Linked DNA regions of Homo sapiens: all the other regions are linked to region 1. Evidence: promoter capture Hi-C in 16 types of primary human blood cells and fetal thymus (Javierre and others, 2016). All regions are on one chromosome and are shown on one strand. Each heading gives the region's core, a stretch centred on a gene start or on the middle of the fragment in contact. The rest is flanking DNA. Distances are from core to core; before and after follow the strand shown. Region 1 holds the start of MED14 (mediator complex subunit 14). Region 2 has its middle 32 kb from the start of LINC02601. Region 3 overlaps USP9X (ubiquitin specific peptidase 9 X-linked). Region 4 overlaps USP9X (ubiquitin specific peptidase 9 X-linked). Region 5 has its middle 88 kb from the start of USP9X.

The links. Contacts are between HindIII fragments. The CHiCAGO score rates a contact against its expected background, and 5 or more counts as called.
Region 2: a contact is called between a fragment that was not itself captured here and the fragment with the promoter of MED14 in region 1, in 2 of 17 cell types (neutrophils and erythroblasts). The highest score is 5.3, in neutrophils.
Region 3: a contact is called between a fragment that was not itself captured here and the fragment with the promoter of MED14 in region 1, in 4 of 17 cell types (neutrophils, naive CD8 T cells, total CD4 T cells and 1 more). The highest score is 7.8, in neutrophils.
Region 4: a contact is called between a fragment that was not itself captured here and the fragment with the promoter of MED14 in region 1, in 15 of 17 cell types (naive CD8 T cells, total CD8 T cells, naive CD4 T cells and 12 more). The highest score is 13.0, in naive CD8 T cells.
Region 5: a contact is called between a fragment that was not itself captured here and the fragment with the promoter of MED14 in region 1, in 2 of 17 cell types (M2 macrophages and M1 macrophages). The highest score is 5.4, in M2 macrophages.

What each region holds. Positions count from the first base shown.
Region 1 is chrX:40,734,233-40,736,859 of GRCh38, reverse strand. It overlaps MED14 (mediator complex subunit 14), which reads left to right and starts at 1,318. Exons shown (of 31, transcript NM_004229.4): 1 at 1,318-1,662. The coding sequence starts at 1,448. MED14OS (MED14 opposite strand) reads right to left here and starts at 1,170. Exons shown (of 2, transcript NR_169211.1): 1 at 1,070-1,170. RefSeq lists enhancers at 106-1,026, 1,027-1,948 and silencers at 981-1,070, 1,331-1,710. The HindIII fragment of the contact is 3,630 bases long and covers 1-1,825 here.
Region 2 is chrX:41,242,618-41,245,244 of GRCh38, reverse strand. No RefSeq gene overlaps it. Among named protein-coding and RNA genes, the nearest start is that of LINC02601, 32 kb to the left of the region's middle. The HindIII fragment of the contact is 3,284 bases long and covers 1-2,627 here.
Region 3 is chrX:41,146,976-41,149,602 of GRCh38, reverse strand. It overlaps USP9X (ubiquitin specific peptidase 9 X-linked), which reads right to left. Exons shown (of 45, transcript NM_001039591.3): 12 at 1,028-1,234. Among named protein-coding and RNA genes, the nearest start is that of USP9X, 63 kb to the right of the region's middle. The HindIII fragment of the contact is 4,811 bases long and covers 1-2,627 here.
Region 4 is chrX:41,118,445-41,121,071 of GRCh38, reverse strand. All of the region lies in intron 1 of USP9X (ubiquitin specific peptidase 9 X-linked), which reads right to left. Among named protein-coding and RNA genes, the nearest start is that of USP9X, 34 kb to the right of the region's middle. The HindIII fragment of the contact is 1,388 bases long and covers 602-1,989 here.
Region 5 is chrX:40,996,118-40,998,744 of GRCh38, reverse strand. No RefSeq gene overlaps it. Among named protein-coding and RNA genes, the nearest start is that of USP9X, 88 kb to the left of the region's middle. RefSeq lists a silencer at 1,611-1,670 and an enhancer at 1,435-1,729. The HindIII fragment of the contact is 875 bases long and covers 890-1,764 here.

The DNA.
Region 1 (2,627 bases), core at 69-2,568:
GATGAACCGCTTTCAACAATGATAAAGAATTACCCAAGTGATGACAGTAAGAATATTCTAACCTTAGGGAACATCATGAACATCTCTTACACCAAGAGGAGATGAAACTGCAAAAAGATGTTTGAAAGGGGTCGCAGCAACGAATGCTTCTAATAGTGAATCTCTACGTTAGGGCATGTTAGAATCACCTTAGGAAAGTTCAAAAATTCCCCAAGCCCAGACCTCAAGCCAGACCAATTAAATCTGAATCTACAGGGGTGGAACCCATATATCTAAGTATTTTTTTAAAAAACAGCTCCTCAGATAATTGCAAAGTGCAGCCAAGGTTGAGAATCGCTGTTTTAAAGCAGGTACAAAAAATTAAACGTGGACTTTGATGGGGGGGACGGGAGTGTCGGTAGGCATGGATGAACTGAAAAGCCCTTCAGAATAGAGCGGTGACTGCAAGAGCAAGGACAAAAACTATATGAGAGCCCGTGGCAGGGGATTTAAGGGCCGTTTTTGTGTGGGACTGACAGGATTTGGGGGATGGTGACGACCTCAGCATACACCCGACTCTATTAAAATTGAGTTACTCTGCCAGCGGCCCTGTCTCTACCCGCAATCATATTTTCTAGCACCTTTTCCCACAGTTTGGAAAAAAAAAAAAAGGGGCGAAAACGTTCTCCCACGTAACGCGCCGTGGACGTGTATGGGAGGAGCAAAGGCCTGAGAATCACAAGCGCGCGGCCGCTCCCATTTCTTCGCGATTCCAGAACCAGAATTCACGAACATTTAGAGGAGGCCTCCCCTGGCTGTGTTTGTGCCCCACTTAGGAAGCGATGGTGGATTTCTCTGGGCAAATTGTCGCCTTTACAACGCCAGGGGGCGGAGGCGGGAGGGAGAGCGGCGAGGGTAAGGGCGGGGCAACTGCTGACGTTCCCGGTGACGACTCCGGCTCAGCCCTCACCCTGGTTTCCGGCGGCGCGCGGCTCCCTTTTCCGCTCTCCCGCGCGCTCACAGGTACCGCCTCACTCCCACGCGCCCCCCAGCGCTGCGGTGCTAGACAGCTGAGAGAACAGACACAGACCTGTCGGAAGGTCCTCTGCAGGTCCCCCTTCCGCTCTGCCGATCGACTTCCGCCTCGGGCAGTCAACATGTACGTTGCGGCTGTCTGGCGAAGCTGCTTCTGAGCGTTTGCGGAGGCGCAGCTTCCCCTCTGCGGGGCCGCCCTGCTTCCCCCCCATCCCCGCCTCCCCCCGCCCCTCGCTCCTGTCCCTGGGGTCGGCGGACTTCTCGCTACATGGGGGCGGGCTTCCGCGGTCGGCGCACGGCTTCCTGTTCTGAGGCGGCCCGGCGGTAGGCGGTGGCGACTCTGCCCGCTCCCGTTTCGGCGCGGTGACCGAGCGCCCGGGAGGCTCGAGGACCGCATCGTGTGCCGTTGCGCCAAGCCCGGTCCTGCGCCGCCATGGCCCCAGTGCAGCTGGAGAACCACCAGCTGGTCCCGCCCGGAGGCGGCGGCGGGGGCAGCGGCGGACCCCCGTCAGCCCCAGCCCCTCCTCCCCCGGGAGCCGCCGTGGCGGCGGCCGCTGCAGCTGCGGCTAGCCCGGGCTACCGGCTGAGCACCCTCATTGAATTTCTGCTGCACCGGGCCTACTCGGAGCTTATGGTGTTGACGGACCTGTAAGTGCCCCGAAACCCCTGCCTGTTCCCCAGCCCCCCTTCCCGCCCAACCGGCTGAGACGTTTGCACCTCCCTCTCCCCGAGAGGCTGCTGTGTTCTCCGCTGGACTGCTTAGTCTAGAATTTTTGAACTCCTGGGGTTCAGCAGAGGTGGAGAAGAAGCTTTGTATCTGGGGTCTTCCTGGCAACGATGCAACAGAGACTTGTTAATTTTGCGTGTTGTTACACTTCCACTGAAAATTGTGTGAAATTTTTGTCCGAGTTCCCAACAGAACTCTCTTGATTTCTTGGCTGGAATACATAATATTCGAGCTTTTAGAAAAAACTCTATAGATGGGAAATTTGTATTACAGCCTCTTGACGATACGTTTTAAATGTAAGCTGTTATTGCTTCTAAGTTAATGCAGGAGCTACATACGTTGTGTATAAAATACAAATTTGAATTCAAAGTACTTTTTTTCTGGAACTTTTGAGTGTTTGAGGTCTTAATGAAGTTAGTGTGAGTAAAATTTTTTTGTAAGTAGTCTGTTATTTCTTGGAGTATGAAGGGGGTTTATAAATCACCTAGTTACCCATGAAATGCCTTGGGGCATGATTAAGTTGTTAATCCCTTCAGAATAGGATCAGAATATACTAACGAATTTCAGTGTGTGAAGAAAAGGCACCGTAACATTTTGGGACTCTGTTGTACATCTTATAACCCAGGTTCAGAAAAAGTTAATCAGAATTTTATTTTTTATCTATTGCAAGACTTCAGATCAGGGTTATCAATTGAGATACATTAGTATGCAGATATTAGGCTCTAAAGCGTCACAGTAATTTGTTTTTAGAGACTGATAACAGATACTTGTTTGCAGATGACTGAAAGAGTAGGCTCTACTTAACTCCTGTAAAACGTCATTCTCAGTTTTGATGTATTGTACTTTTTTGAATGGGACAGAAAAAAGTAGTGTTAAAGAAGCCTAC
Region 2 (2,627 bases), core at 79-2,578, 510 kb before region 1:
TACTCTGTTACAGCCATTTTGCTCACACGATGTTAGCAGTATTCCTGATGTTAGCAGCAGATTATTTTCTTTGTTTTGGAATTCACTAAGTAAGATCCTCTTGGTCCTTTGCTGGAGAAACGCCACTTCCAGTTTTCCCTGTGAAGTCCCTATCTTAGGGTTGATGTGGCATCCTGAATGGGCCATCTGTCAGCAAAGCTGGGCACCATTAAAAACTGTGCTTGAAGGATACACATTGAATCATGATGGTGCTTGCTTCTGGTGTAGGGGAAGGGAATGGAATGGAGGATGGGGGAAATGTCGCCCAGGCTGGAGTGCAGTGGCTGGATCTCGGTTCAGTGCAACCTCTGCCTCCTGGGTTGAAGCCATTAGCTTGCCCAGCCTCCCAAATAGCTGGGATTACAGGCATATGCTACCATGCCCGACTAATTTTTGTATTTTTAGTAGAGACGGATTTTTGCCATGTTGGCCAGGCTGGTCTCGAACTCCTGACCTCGTGATCCGCCCACCTCAGCCTCCTACAGTGCTGGGATTACAGGCGTGAGCCACTGAGCCCAGCCATTTCTCTGTATTTTTAAAGTTTCGCAAAAACCTTTTTTTTTTTTTTAGTAGAGACAGGGTTTCACCATGTTGGCCAGGCTGGTCTCGAACTCCTGACCTCAGGTGATCCACCTGCCTCGGCCTCTCAAAGTGCTGAGATTACAGGCGTGAGCCACCGCGCCTGGCCTCCAGTCCTTTCTTAAGGGCCACTGCAGCCCTTGCTATCTTTGACTTAGTACCATGAGGAAAAGGAAACCAAGTTCAAGTGTACAGGAGCACTGCAACAGCAAAGAATCCAGTCATTTTCAATGAAAATTAATTCAAACAAAATACAAAGAAAAGTAACCAGAGTTGGGCAAGATAATATTCCTTGAATGTGTATATGTTCAAAATCTGAATGTATAAAATATTAAAGAAAAGAGTAAATATTGGCTGGGCGCGGTGGCTCACGCCTATAATCCCAGCACTTTGGGAGGCCGAGGCGGGCGGATCACCTGAGGTCGGGAGTTCGAGACCAGCCTGACCAACGTGATGAAACCCCGTCTCTACTAAAAATACAAATATTAGCTGGGCATGGTGGCGCATGCCTGTAATCCCAGCTACTCAGGAGGCTGAGGCAGGAGAATCGCTTGAACCTGGGAGGCAGAGGTTGCAGTGAGTCAAAGTCACGCCATTGCACTCCAGCTTGGGCAACAAGAGTGAAACTCTGTCTCAAAAAAAAAAAAAAAAAAAAAAGAAAGAAAGAAAAGAAAAGAAAAGAAAACGGTAAATACAAGGAAGCAACTGAAAAGCCAACAACACCAACCAACCACTTTGGGTTGCATCCACCTATCCAGGTAACGATGCAATCCTAAACTTACCAATTTTTCCATTTTAATTCTAAGCTAACAGATTTTATTGGTTGACTTTTTTTTTTTTTTCCACAAGACAGTCTCGCTGTCACCCAGGCTGGAGTGCAGTGGTGCGATCTCGGCTCACTGCAACCTCCACGTCCCAGGTTCAAGTGATTCTCCTGCCTCAGCCTCCTGAGTAGCTGGGACTACAGGCACCCGCCACCACGCCCAGCTAATTTTTATATTTTTTAGTAGAGACGGGGTTTCGCTATGTTGGACAGGTTGGTCTCGAACTCCTGACCTCAGGTGATCCACCCCCCCCCCCCCGCCCCCCGCTCGGCCTCCCAAAGTGCTGGGATTACAGGTGTAAGCCACAGCATCCGCCCCCCGCCCCCCTCCTTTTTTTTTTTTTTGAACGTGAGAGTTGCATCAACGGTCTGTAAGAAAGCTGGCTTTTCTTATAAAAAAGACACTGAGTACATCCAGAAAACCCCAGCAAGGATATGCCTGACACTAGGATTTCTCCAAACTATTTACTTTAGACCTGATTAATGATTGTGCACCTGGAGTGATGAGTTTTCCAGAGGTCAAGTTGGACTCAATCACCCATATTCAAATCAAGAGAGCAACTGGGAGAGAACACAATTTAAGGCAAAGTGTACTTCACACGTGTAGAACCTGTGCCTCAGTTGTGATGGCCACCCTCACCTCCTTTTTTTTTTTTTTTTTGAGACGGAGTCTCGCTCTGTCGCCCAGGCTGGAGTGCAGTGGCGTGATCTTGGCTCACTGCAAGCTCCGCCTCCCGGGTTCACGCCATTCTCCTGCTTCAGCCTCCCATGTAGCTAGGACTACAGGTGCCCGCCACCACGCTCGGCTAATTTTTTGTATTTTTAGTAGAGACGGAGTTTCACCGTGTTAGCAAGGATGGTCTAGATCTCCTGACCTTGTGATCTGCCCGCCTCAGCCTCCCAAAGTGCTGGGATTACAGGCGTGAGCCACCGCGCCCGGCCACCTCCTTTCTTTACATTGTTTCTTCAGTCCCATAACATCTTTGCAGCATTATTATTCCTGAGTGATTATGACAGCACAATTAAGTTTTTTTTTTTTTTTTTTTGAGACGGAGTCTCTGTCACCCAGGCTGGAGTGCAGTGGCATGATCTTAGCTCACTGCAGCCTCTGCCTTCCGGGTTCAAGTGATTCTCCTGCCTCGGCCTCTTAAGTAGCTGGGATTACAAGTGCATGCCACCACGCCTG
Region 3 (2,627 bases), core at 67-2,566, 410 kb before region 1:
AAGTAGAATTGTTGGGTTTAATAGTGTGTACATTTTTAAGGCCATGAAAACATTTATGATCAAATGTACACTTTGACAACAGTTTTGGCAAGCAGAAGGGAAAAGGTGACAGTTGGAAAATGACTTTTAAAAATTTTTTCCCAAACAATAAATGAAAGTTGAAGTTGAAAAAAGGCAACAGTCTACTAAATTCAGTGAAACTCAGTAACTATTCATGAATGAATGTGTACATCACTATGCCAGGCACTGATACTAATAGATATTTAAAAAAGAAGTTACTAGTTAAAAGCCCTGATAGCAAATGTACTGCTCTGATTTCAAGACTCCTCAGAAGGACCCTTGGTTTAATGAAATAATTTATACTCAAGGCCCTTATTACTATTTAATTTGCTGAATAAATACTTACCGAACTGTCACAAGTAAACATAGTCAAAACCTGAGTAGTATCTACATTAATACACCTTCCTGAGCTTTTCTTGGCTCTTACCTAAATACCAGTTCATCAGTGTAACAAATAGTTTTATTAACATGTGAGAAATTACTCAGCAATGTTCACTTTACCATGTGTTAAAAAATACACATGCCACAAATTAGAATGTAGGGAAACTGTGTGATTTGCTCACTGTGGAGGCACTAAATGTTTTAATGGTTAGGAAATTCTATTAATTTTTCTTAACTTCCCTATGAGCAAAGAAAACCTAATTTCTCTTCCCTCTGAAGTCCCTATCAGCTTTAACATTCGAATTCTATTCGAAACGGCATTTCAGAACCATACACTTGATAATGCCACCACTGTATAATCTGTTCTGTTTATACTTTCTCCCAAGGAGACTAAAATGCTTTTCAGATGAGTCACAAAACCTTGATGTACAGATCCTAAGGAAAGCAGACTAATGAACAAAAAAAGTCAACTCCGGAAGATCATTTAAAAACTAACAATGTCAGAGTAACAGAACTATCCTGTAACTAAGCCAACCTAACTGAAGGGGAAAAGTCACAAAAAGTGAGCAAAGCAGTACACTCTTACCTGGGAGCAACTGTAATCTAGTATTTTTATGTGGGCACTGAGAGCCAGGTCCATGATATCTACAGGCACATCATCACTGTGAGCCAGATTCCACAGAAGGTTCAACACTTTGTGTGCCATCACACCATCTTTATCATCTTCTGCAAGACGACGTATCAGCTCAAGTAGCTTTTCACGTTGCTTTTTACTCGCATTTGTCCAACTGGCCTAGAAAAAAATTAAGTGACATGAAAACAACACATATTTAGTCACCACTTCATAAATTGTCACCAGGTTAACTATATTCAAATTCATCAAAAGCAACGTAGCTAAGCACAGAATGATTCAAGTGAGATCTGAAAATATAGTTAGCCTGGTATTTTTTTTATAGGGTAGAGTTAAATTCCAAAAAAGAAAAATAAATGATACACTATTTCAATTTAGAAGACACCCAATTAAAAACTCTAAAATACATTTTTTTAAAACCTCTAAAATGGTATTGTAATACAACATGGTTATCATGCTTGGGGAAGGGCAGGGTACTAATGGCATTTAGTGAGTAGAGACCAGGGATGCTGCTAAGCAATATGGGAAAAGTTTTATGAGTAAAGTTACTGCTATGGTTCGAATGTCCCCCCCAAAACTCACGGTTAAGCTGGCACCATGCCTCTTGTACTTCCCAACCTCCAGAATCATAAGCCAAATAAAATTCTGTTCTTTATAAATTACCCAGTCTGTGGTGTTCTGTTATAGCAGCAGCAAATGCACTAAGTTGCTGATCAGTGTTTATTAGAAAATAAACTGAAACGAACTTAACGTCAAACAGCAGAAGAACGATTAAGCTGACCGGGCACGGTGGCTCACGCCTATAATCCCAGCACTTTGGGAGACCCAGGCAGGTAGATTACCTGAGGTCGGGAGTTCAAGATCAGCCTGGCTAACATGGTGAAACCCCATCTCTACTAAATATACAAAATTAGCTGGGCGTGGTGGCGCATGCCTGTAATCCCAGCTACTTGGGAGGCTGAGGCAGGAGAATTGCTTGAATCCAGGAAGTGGAGGATGCAGTGAGCTGGGATCGCGCCACTGCACTCCAGTCTGGGTGACAGAGTGAGACTCTGTCTCCAAAAAAAAAAAAAAAAAAAACAACGATTAAGTTAATGAGAGAAGATTAGTTCAATGGAATTATTAATATGGTACGTCTTCAAAGATGATGTGAATGCCTGTTTTTATTTCCTTCCAGCCTACACAAAATAACAAAAGGAATATGACAACTGCTAAAAATGTAAGACTAAAATATCAGATTACAATTAAAAACCTCTAGCTAACATTATAAAAAGAGAGACAACTAGGTATTCCTCCTCAAGGAAAAGCACACCACCACTTGAGATATGCTCTAGTAAAATTAAAAAAAAAAAAAACCTTCTGTATCAAAACTATTGACAGACACCAAGGCAACAAACAATCCAGTTTCTTCAACAAATAAATTGCAAGGGAAGTAAAAAAGAAGAAAGCTAGTTTCAAAGAGACTTAAAAGACATACACATGGACTGCACCAGGATCCTGATTAAAACTCACTTCTAAAATGAAGATGTATGATCTAAGACAACTGGAAGTTTTA
Region 4 (2,627 bases), core at 46-2,545, 380 kb before region 1:
GTTCAAAACCAGCCTGGCCAACGTGGTGACACCCCATCTCTACTAAAAATACAAAAAAAAAAAAAATTAGCCAGGCATGGTGGCTCACCCCTGTAGTCCCAGCTACTGAGGAGGCTGAGTCAGGAGAATCACTTGAACCCAGGAAGCGGAGGTAGCAGTGAGATGAAATGGGGCCACTGCACTCCAGCCTGGGCAACACAGCGAGACCCTGTCTCAAAAAAAAAAAAAAAACTTGACTAAAGCACACACAAAAACTGATTTGTTAAGATATGTTGGCTGGGCGCGGTAGCTCACGCTTGTAATCCCAGCACTTTGGGAGGCTGAGGCGGGCGGATCATGAGGTCAGGAGATCAAGACCATCCTGGCTAACATGGCGAAACCCCGTCTCTACTAAAAATACAAAAAATTAGCCGGGCGTGGTGGCGGGCACCTGTAGTCCCAGCTACCTGGAGAGGCTGAGGCAGGAGAATGGCGTGAACCTGGGAGGCAGAGCTTGCAGTGAGCCGAGATGGCACCACTGTACTGCAGCCTGGGCAACAGAGCGAGACTCTGTCACACACACAAAAAAGATATGTCCTCCTCTAGGCAAAATTCAGAAGCTTCAGGGAGAAGTAGAAAAACAGATATGAAGATAGACTTCTCAAAAAGAAATAGAAGTGACTAATAAATACATGAAATAAGACATAATTTTAAAATAGAGCTTTTCGCATGTTAGGCACTGTTTGTAGCACCGTAATCCTTACAAATGTATACAGTAGGAACTAGTATCATCCCTCTTTACAGGTAAGGAAAGGGAGGCACAGAGAGCAAAAGTAAATTACCGTATCAGTAAGTACTAAGTGGCAAAATGGGATTCCAACCCAGGGAGTCCATAGCTCTTAAATGCTACACTAGCCTGCCTCTCAACCTCATTAGTAATTGCGAAAATGCAAATTACAAAACCAAAATTTGTTCCACTGATCAAACTGGCGAAGCAAAACAAAGTTTTAAGACTGATACTATCAAGTACTGGTGAGTCTAAAGACATAGAAGCTCTTTAAATACATAAAGTGGAAAAAAAAAATGAAAAAGTCTGATTTAAGCAGTCCCTCTTTCGCTTTTGTTATCCATTTTATACACCCTAAATTACAAAGAGTGTTACGTGAAGCAGACAATTTTCAAAACCTTGAGAAACTTGCATATCATTTTCCTTAGCCACTTTGGGTCTGCTGACAAATTATGTGAATGATTATTTTCTTTTTTGAGACGGAGTCTCGCTCTGTCACCCAGGCTGGAGTGCAGTGGCGCAATCTTGGCTCACCGCAACCTCCGCCTCCCGGGTTCAAGCAATTCTCCTGCCTCAGCCTCCCGAGTAGCTGGGACTACAGGCTCGTGCTGCCACACCTGGCTAATATGTGAATAATTATTTTCTTGGCACTCAAAATATTAGCTAACCAATTCAACTTTATTCTTGTCTACTTCAAATCTGCTCCAGTTTCTTCTTTTTCTTGTCCCTCAGCTTGGGGTCATGATCCCATTGTATACCCTCTCCAAGGGATGATGCTCCAATCATCATCATCCCCAATCAATCTTTTCCCAGCCTGTGCTTGAATCTTCCCTACTGAAAATCACCAGTGTCTGCCCTTCCCTTTTCCCACAAGTCGTAAGACTGTCTCCATTTCCCCCTTCTCTTTCTTTTTAAATAAATGTGATGAAGACAAAGTAGGTAAGTTGTAAATTTTGGGTTTTTTGTTGTTGTTGTTTTGAGACCCAGGCTGGTCACGAGATCCTGGGCTCAAGCAATTCTCCTCCCTGGCCTCCCAAAGTGCTAGGATTACAGATGTGAGCCACCATGCCCCGCCCATCTCACCTTCCACTTTGTCCATTCTCTCTCATCACCTGGCTCCATCCAAAGCTACTAAAACTAAAACTGCTTTAAGCCAGAAGGTCTTAATCGAGACGTAGGGATGGGCTTCAAGATTAATTCCCCTAAAAATTACATACAAAGCTTTTGAGTATGTGCATTAGGGGACGCATGAGAAGAAGGTCCACAGATCAATGTTCTACTTACTGACAAATCAAATAACTGCTTCTCAATATTCATCCTGTTTGCCCTCTTCTCATCATTAGACACTGACCACCTCTCCCTTCTTGAAACTCTGAGCTTCCTTGGCTTATATAATCCTGGACTCCAGGTTTCCCGTCCACTTCTCTTCCAAGGAAAGGGGTAGAGTGGCAGTTCGTACAGTTCTTAACATTGAAACTGAGGTGAAAACCACTAGAGAGTTGGCTCTACACGTCTAGAATTCAGGCAAAACTTGGGAATCTTGAACACAGATTCAACTATTCACAAAAGGGTAGGAAGAGATGGATTCATCAGCACCACCTGGGAGTCTGTTTTTTTTCCCGAAAATAAATACAACCTCCACTCCCTACCATCTCCTCCTGAGAGTGATGAGGTTAGCGACTATATATTCCCAAGTGTGGGGCAAGTAGGGGGCCAGGGAGATCACCTTGTCTACTAAGCCAATACTGTGTCTCTTTTAAAAGTCTTTCCAGGAAGCAATACAAGGACGAACAAAATGTGGTACCTATGTTCAGTGGATTATTTAGTATTTTTTAAAAAGAAAGGAAATTCTGACAGGTGC
Region 5 (2,627 bases), core at 78-2,577, 260 kb before region 1:
CACACACAATGTTGCATCTCAATTTTTAAAAGTTGATTCAGAAAAGCTGGGTTCTGAATGTAAAGAAGTTTTAGGAATACTTTAACCAACTTAAATTTTCTTTTTTAAGGTATGTCCAAAAGTGATATATGAGAAAAACAAATGTCTAGATAAGTCTAAAAGAATTCTTTGAATAAATATAAAACAAAAATTCTAAGTGATTAAAGACACTTATTTGTGTTCACACGTATTCCAATTCAGAGGGACCTCACGTGATCACCCATTTCTCAAAAACACAGAAACATGCCCAACCACCTCACTAGACTCCATTCCAGAGAGTACAATGCTGAAACTTCCTCTGTGCAGCCTTTAAGGCACTGTCCAGAGAGAGGTTGGCAGGTGGATGGCTGGGCCTGTAAAGGCTGAGCAAGGCCACCGACAAGTACTTGGTGAAGGTCAGTGGGCAAGTTATCTTGCCAGCTCCTAACCGAGTTCATTTGTAGGTTTCAGGCTCCTGGCTCCACTCTGAAAGAACATCTGTTGTGACTTTCTGGCAATGCCCAACTGAACCCTGGCCCCTGTCCGTGCCCCATCCATTGGATTTGGGGCAGCCCAGTGTTCTGTTTCATCCTCCCACTGCCAACCCGGAATCAGCCTCCAGACTCTCTTTCTGCCATGTTTTGTCATTCTCTAAGTGTACTCAGTCAGATGCCTCAGCAAGCTCTCTCAAAAATAGTCAAAAGAGTGATCATGTTTTACAAAGTTGCGGCCCAATGTGCAAAGTCACTACTTGGAGAGGATCTGATAAGCGTCTTACCTCTAGAACCCAAAGACAGGGGATTGGATATGGAATCAATTCTAGTTGCCCCCAACCCACCCACCCCATGACTGGATTGTGGAGAATTAAGCTTAATTTGTTCAGCCTTTCCTTTGTATATTTTTTAAAATAAAAAATAATGCGAATTCAATTTTACGTAAGCAATAGAGATCTTTCCTGTATTTTTATTCAATTCTCCAAACCATCATTCGACTTTAAATTGGATTCACAGATACAATGTTTGGAGATATTTTTTCTCACTGAGATTTAGTACCTTATTTGTTCCTGGCCCATGTGATTCCCAGGTATCTGAAATGTATAAATTATTTATAGTCCAGATGGTGATCTGATACTATCTGCATCTAAAAATGTTCTGTGCTTTTGCTGCAGACACAGACGTTCAATTACAAAATTCAGGTTGGTCTTTAGGTCCTAGCCTGATATCTCAAGGCATTCTTGATTACAAAGAAATACTCCAAATTCCAGCAGCCTTTTTTCCGTTTGCTTTCATTGCTTAGCATTAAAAACCATTCCTCTGTGGGAGCTACCAAGTTAAGGAAGAGAAAAGGGGGGAAGTTCCTTTTTTTTTTTCTCTTGCCGGAGGAGGGAATTTTTTTTTTTCTTAGCCAAATTGAAAACTTCTAAGTTTCAAAATGGGAGATTGTGACTAGATTGCTATTTGTTCCCCCAAATCCTTTTTGTTCATTTTTTGGTAGCAATAGAAACCCCGAATTTAAGAAGGTAAAATGGCTTCCCAGAATAGAGACTACATTACCCAGCCTCCCTTATAGCTAGATGTGGTCATGTGACTACATTCTGGCCAACTATATGTGAGCAGAACTTATGTATGCAACTTCTGGATCATGTCCCTAAAGGAGCAGAGCTTGCTATCTGCTTCCTCTTTGCCCTTCTTGCTGGTTGGAAGAGGGATGTGGTAATGAGCCATCTGGGACCATGTGGACAAAGCTTCACTCAGGGATGGCAATTTCATAACACAGGAGGAGCCCAGGAACCACCATGGTGCTGAAAGAGCAGCTCTGGACTACATATGCCCAGAGGGAGAAATGCTCTGCTTTCTTTATCGTAAGACATTGTTATTTTGGTTCTCAGAGACAACAGCCAAAACTATATTCTAACGAAAAACACAGACACTTAGGCAGAATTGGAGATAATTTTGATCAAAAGACTAGAAGAGGCCTGGTGCAGTGGCTCACACCTGTAATCCCAGCACTTTGGGAGGCGGAGGCGGGCGGATCACCTGAGGTCAGACCAGCCTGGCCAACATGGCGAAACTCCGTCTCTACTAAAAATACAAAAAGTTAGCCAGGCATGGTGTCAAGCGCCTGTAATCCCAGCTACTCAGGAGGCTGAGGCAGGAGAATCACCTGGACCCGGGAGGCGGAGTTTGCAGTGAGCTGAGATTGTGCCATTGCGCTCCAGCCTGGGCAACAGAGGCGAAACTCTGGAAAAAAAAAAAGACTAGGAAAGGCCTGGTGCAGTGGCTCATGCTCGTAATCCCAGCACTTTGGGAGGCCTGGAGGATCACTTGAGCCCAGGAGTTGAGACCAGCCTGGGCAACATAGGAGGACCCAGGTCTCTACAAAAAATTAAAAAATTAGCCGGACATGGTGGAGCATGTTTGTGGTCCCAGCTACTCAGGGAGCTGAGGTGGGAGGATTGCTTGACCCTGAAGCCCAGGAGGTCCAGGCTGCAGTGAGCTGTGATCACCACTGCACTTCAGCTTCGGTGACAGAGCGAGAGCCTGTCTCAAAAAAAAAAAAAAAAGAGAAAAAAAAGAAAAGAAAAAGAAAAGAAAAAAGACCAGGAATGT